Linked DNA regions of Homo sapiens: region 2 is linked to region 1. Evidence: promoter capture Hi-C in 16 types of primary human blood cells and fetal thymus (Javierre and others, 2016). All regions are on one chromosome and are shown on one strand. The core of a region is centred on a gene start or on the middle of the fragment in contact, and the rest is flanking DNA. Distances in the headings are between cores, read along the strand shown. Region 1 holds the start of PAPLN-AS1 (PAPLN antisense RNA 1). Region 2 overlaps PSEN1 (presenilin 1).

The links. The method cuts DNA at HindIII sites, captures the fragments that hold promoters and counts their contacts. A CHiCAGO score of 5 or more calls a contact.
Region 2: a fragment that was not itself captured here is called in contact with the fragment with the promoter of PAPLN-AS1 in region 1 in 1 of 17 cell types (endothelial precursors); the score reaches 5.2 in endothelial precursors.

The regions. Positions count from the first base shown.
Region 1 is chr14:73,244,733-73,247,432 of GRCh38, forward strand. It overlaps PAPLN-AS1 (PAPLN antisense RNA 1), which reads right to left and starts at 1,269. Exons shown (of 2, transcript NR_135248.1): 1 at 792-1,269; 2 at 1-512. It overlaps PAPLN (papilin, proteoglycan like sulfated glycoprotein), which reads left to right. Exons shown (of 27, transcript NM_001365906.3): 3 at 1-27; 4 at 904-964; 5 at 1,341-1,443. It also overlaps the pseudogene RNU6-419P. RefSeq lists a silencer at 1,104-1,373 and enhancers at 2,321-2,390, 2,529-2,700. The HindIII fragment of the contact is 12,638 bases long and covers 1-2,700 here.
Region 2 is chr14:73,166,884-73,169,583 of GRCh38, forward strand. All of the region lies in intron 3 of PSEN1 (presenilin 1), which reads left to right. Among named protein-coding and RNA genes, the nearest start is that of PSEN1, 32 kb to the left of the region's middle. RefSeq lists enhancers at 1,497-2,433, 2,434-2,700. The HindIII fragment of the contact is 1,987 bases long and covers 431-2,417 here.

The sequences.
Region 1 (2,700 bases), core at 19-2,518:
CCGGGAGCGCCCCTGCTACTCCCAGAGGTAGGAGAGATGAAAATGGGCCAGCTTGTTAAAGCAGGAGCAGGGGATGCTGCCTTCTGGGTGGTGGGCTAGGTGGTCGTGGCCTAGGCTAGCACTGGCCACATCAGCAGAACCCACCAAGGAGCAGATTCATTCTGGAAGCAGCATCAGTTCAGCGCAGGAAATCAAACCATTTCCCAGGGCCTTCCACTCTGAGCTGGAGCACGCGTGCTGCCTGTTGCCCCTGGTCTCCAGCTCCTGATGCTGCACCGGCCTGCAGTATGGCAGGTGCAGTCAATTTTGCTGGAACTGGTAAATAATCTTCAACCGGCAGTTCCCAATTCCTGTGGTTTCTTTACCGAGTACAGATGTTCCCCACTTCAAGCGATTTATTAAATGCTTGCTGTGTGTGCTGCACTCCGGCAGGGTCAGTGGAGAAGGTGGGGCACAGAAGGAGTAGTGAGGTGCCTCTGTCCCGGTTTGTATAGGGGTTGTTCCTGAGAACCCTATGTGAGGAGGAATGAGAGACCAGGAATGATCCTAAGAGCCTTATACTGATGTCCTGCTTAGATCGCAGGATGGCTGTGCCAAGCGGGTGGGTATTATATCTCATGCACCTCGGGTCTTCTCTGGGAATCTGCCTAAGATGCAGTGGAGTGGTCCCGCCTTAAATCCAAACTATAGGGTGGGTAGGGCTCTGAGTCCCGCTTCTCTGGAGTACCAACATGGGTCGCTCACTCCCACCTGGGGGATTTACGGGGTGGGGTCGGGGGACACCCTCTCACCTTGCTGCTCCCACTGGAGAGTCCCGCAGAAGTTGGGGCCTGCAGAGAGCCCCAGAACGGGGGCAGGGACGTTGGGTCTCGGTCAGGTCTTCCCGGTGCTCTGGTCCCGCAGGAGAGATGGAGGCTCCAGCTGCGTGGGCCCCGCCCGGAGCCACCGCTCTTGTCGCACGGAGGTAAAGCTCACGGGGCGCGGGCGAAGGCACCAGCTTCCCCAGCCCCTCCTGGCCGATTTCCCCATTGGGATGCCCGCTCCTGGCCGCGGGCTGCTGGGTTGGCCCAGCCTGGGGTCCTCCCGCCAATCCACAGCAGGGCTGCGTGGGGGCCCCTTCCTCACCCTGCTCCCGGGGACTGGCCTTGCCCTCCACAGCCTAGAGCACCATGGAGGGGCACGCACAGGAGTTCGGGGGTCCGGGGGGCGGACTCCACCTCCGGCGGCTCCGATGGGGCAGGCAAGGGAGACTCCTGGGCTCCCTGGGCTCGGGCGGGGCGGGAGGTGGGCGGACCTCGGACTCCGCCCTCCTGGATCCCGACTTCCCCTCCGCCCCGCAGAGCTGCCCCGACGGCGCCCGGGACTTCCGGGCCGAGCAGTGCGCGGAGTTCGACGGAGCGGAGTTCCAGGGGCGGCGGTATCGGTGGCTGCCCTACTACAGCGGTGAGCGCGGCCGGGACTCGCTCTCTCGGGGCCTCTTGTATACCTACGTTGATGCCACAGTTCCTATTGCCGTATTATAGAGGCGTTGTCATATATATATATATTAGAGACAGTCTCACTGTGTTGCCCAGGCTGGTCTTGAACTCCTGGGCTCAAGGGATCCGCCGGCAGCGACCTCCCAGAGTGCTGGGATTGCAGGCGTGAGCCACTGTACCCGACCAATTTTTTTTTTTTTTTTTTTTTTTTTTTTTGGGTGGGCGCGGGGGCTCGCAATGTACAGGAAATCTTGTAGACCACAGGACCCACCTTTGGGGAGGAGAGGGTCTGCAGAGGTCCCTCGAGAGAGAGCAAGAGGTCTCTCTTTTTCTTTATCTTTTTTTCTTTTCTTTCTCTCTCGTTCTCTCTCGCTTGCTCTTTTTTCTCTCTTCCTTTCCTTTCCTTTTTTTCTTTTCCTTTTTCTTTCTTTCTTTTTTTTTTTTTTTTGAGACAGGATCTTGCCCAGGCTTGAGTGCAGCAGTGTCATGTCAGCTGGGCAGCATGTACCTCCCAAGCTCAATCAATCCTTCCACCTCAGCCTCCCAAATAATTTTTAAAGTAAATATGGAATGCTTCATGAATTTGCATGCCATACCAGCTAAGGGGGCAGGGGCTGTGCTAATCTCTGTATCGTTCCAATTTTAGTATATGTGCTGCCAGAGCCAGCATTTGTCAAATACCCCATCGATCAACCCATAATGAATCAATCACCAGTACCCCTGCTCCCCCCAGCACATGCCCGTGGCAACACCATGGCAGCCATTTTGAGGTCTTTCCATCCTTTCTCCCCTTATGTATGTATATTTTCAAACGAAGCTATGGTGTGTCTATACCATTTTGAGCCCTGTTTTTGCTCAGTCTGCTATGGGAAGCGTTCCTCCCGTCGCACAGAGACGGAGATGGGGAACCCCGGGAGCGGTAGCAATGGTGCCCCACGGTCATCCTGCAGGAGGGGCTGGAAGGGGCTTGGTACACCAAGACTTCATTTATCAAGGATCTGGGGGCCAGAGGAGATGGTCTGTGCACCTCTGAGGAGGGTATAAGTCATTAATTTTTAGAGAAATACAGTTCAGGGAAAAAACACCCAGGTAAGCACCAACATGTATGTCATTAAGCATTTTAGATGAATCAGAAGATTCCTCAAGACAAGTCTTCTGAGTGTTCGTTTTCCCTGCTTGCGGCAAATGACCTCTGGAGACCCTGTGGCACTCTAGATTCCAG
Region 2 (2,700 bases), core at 174-2,673, 78 kb before region 1:
ACTGAAGGAAAGCACACCATGCCTTTATAACGCCAGCCTCGGTCTTTTTTTTGTTCCCCTCTGTCTTAGTTCCTTTTGTATTGCTATAACAGAATACCGCAGACTGGGTGATTTATTTATTTATTTATTTTGTTGTTGTCATTTGTTTTCTTCTTTTTTGTATCTTTTGAAATTCTTTTCATTGTTGTTGTTGTTTTGAGACTGGGTGATTTGTTTATTCAGCTCATGGTTCTTGAGGCTGGAAAGCCCAAGAGTATATGGTACCAGCAGCACCTGATTATGCCATGGTGGATAGACAGAACGGCAAGAGAGAGCTTGCTTTTGTAACAAAGTCACTCCCATGATAACTAACCTACTCCTGTGATAACGACATTGCAGGTTCAGTATCCCTGATTTGAAAGTCTGAAATTCAAAGTGCTCCCAAATCTGAAGCTTTCTGAGTATCAATGTGATGCTCAAAGGAAATGCTTATTGGAGTGTTTTAGATTTTGGATTTTTAGATTTGGTATGTTCAACCTGTAAGTATAATGGAAATATTCCAAAATGCAAAATCTGAAACACTTCTGGTCCCAAACATTTCAGATAAAGGATACTGAACCTTTAATCCATTCATGAAGGCAGAGTCCTCATGACCCAGTCACCTCCTAAAGGCCTCACCTCTTGATACTACCACAATGGCAACCAGGTTTCCAGTACATGAATTTTTAGGGGGATCATTCAAACTATAGCACCCTCCTTTATCCCTTACCCTATTCCATTAGTTTTAATCCCCACTTTGTCTCTTCCTCTAATCTTCAGTCTACACTGTGACATGATAGGTATGCTCAAGTCTCTAACAGCTCTAAAATAACGTTTTCTGTTTTTTTTTTTGTCTTCATTTCTGGTGGGGTTGGATAAGAAAAGTTTTTCAAGTTAAATCACTCTCTATTGCAAGCCTCTTCCACCTTTTTTTTTTTTTTTTTTGCTTCGAAGAATGATTGCCTTTACCTTCTCAGTTCTCAGTTATTTTCCAGCACATTATGATTTTATGACCTTGATACAGAAGGGCTGGGCTCCTGGCTAAATTCCACCCTTAAACCTGGAACTGCAACCCTAAGTGAAAACAGCTAACCCCATTTTTTTTCCCACCCAAATGTTGCCTCTTTGGCCTGCCATGCCCCTATCCTGTGCTCATAAAAATATTTCAGCTGGGCTGGGTGCGGTGGCTCACTCCTATAATCCCAGCACTTTGGGAGACCGAGGCAGGTGGATCACCTGGGGTCAGGAGTTCAAGACCAGCCTGGCCAACATGGCAAAACCGTATCTCTACTAAAAATACAAAAATTAGTTGGGCATGGTGGTGGGCACCATAATCCCAGCTACTTGGGAGGATGAGGCAGGAGAATTGCTTGAACCTGGGCGGCGGAGGTTACAGTGAGCCCAGATTGTGCCAGTGCACTCCAGCCTGGGCAACCGAGTGAGACTCTGTCTCAAAAAAAAAAAAACAAAAACAAAAAAGATTTCAGCAGCTGGGAGAACAATATAAGCAGCTGACGTCAGGGATATAAATGGCTGTGTGTTGGGAATACAAGCAGCTGATTGTCGGAAATACAAGCCACTGAGTGTTGGTGATACAAGTGGCTGAGCAGCGAGCAGAGAATCAGGTGAGCGTTGGAGACTATGGATGGGACGTGGCTAACTTCAGATGGTGCAGCTTTGGAGAATAGGCCCAGCCGGAGATGGCCTGGCTTCAGGGAAAGATCACCTTCTTCCCATACCATCCCTTTTTCAACTCCCCATTCTGCTGAGAACCACTTCCATCGTGCAATACAATCTTCTGCATATACTACCCTTCAATCTGTTCATGTGATCTGATTATTCCTGGACACTGGAAGAGAACCTGGGTGCCAAGAGGAGAGGGCAGGGGCTGCCACCCTGACCCTCCACTGAGCTGGCTGGCACCTGGCCATCCCCGAATGGCCGCGTTGAAGGAGCATTGATTGTAACACACTTGGATGCTGCTGCGGGGCCGCATAGAGCCTGCGCCTGCCAGAGAGGAGCAACTGGCTGGTTCCCGCATTCGTTTGCTCTGATTCCCACACTCACTCACTCGCTTGCACACTGCCTCTTGCAAGGGGTTTGAGTGTGTGGTGGCCGAGTAAACGAGCCACGCTCCGAGCCATGAGGGGGTCAAGGGAATTATCCAGTCTCATCTCAATCCGACTTCCCTCTTCACTGTTTTACTTTTGTAAAACCCTTGATGAACTTCCCATTGTCAATTCAGGGTCTTTTTAGCTCTCATCCTGCCAGACTGTTGATAACACCTCTGATTTGTGCTCCACTTTTGGCTTCTGTGTCATATTGATTCCTGAGTTTTCTTCCTTCTCCTCTATTCTCTTAATCTCGTTTTCTGGTTTTCTCCCATCACCTGCTGGTTAAGCTTAGGGGTTATTTACACTTCTCTCCTTGGTCATCTTTTTACTGTATTTTTCCCTCCACAGCTATTTCATCCATTTCTGAGGCCTGAGATTTCATCCATTTCTGAGGCTATAGAGACCAGTGACTTCCTCTGACTCTTCTGAGCTTGAAATTCCTATTGGTAACTGCCATTGGACTTAACTGCCTGGTTATATCTCTAACTAAAGTACTTCTCTCTTCCAGCCTGTTTATCTTATTGTGTTCCATTGTGTTCCTTATCTCTACCAATGCTAGTTCCTTATG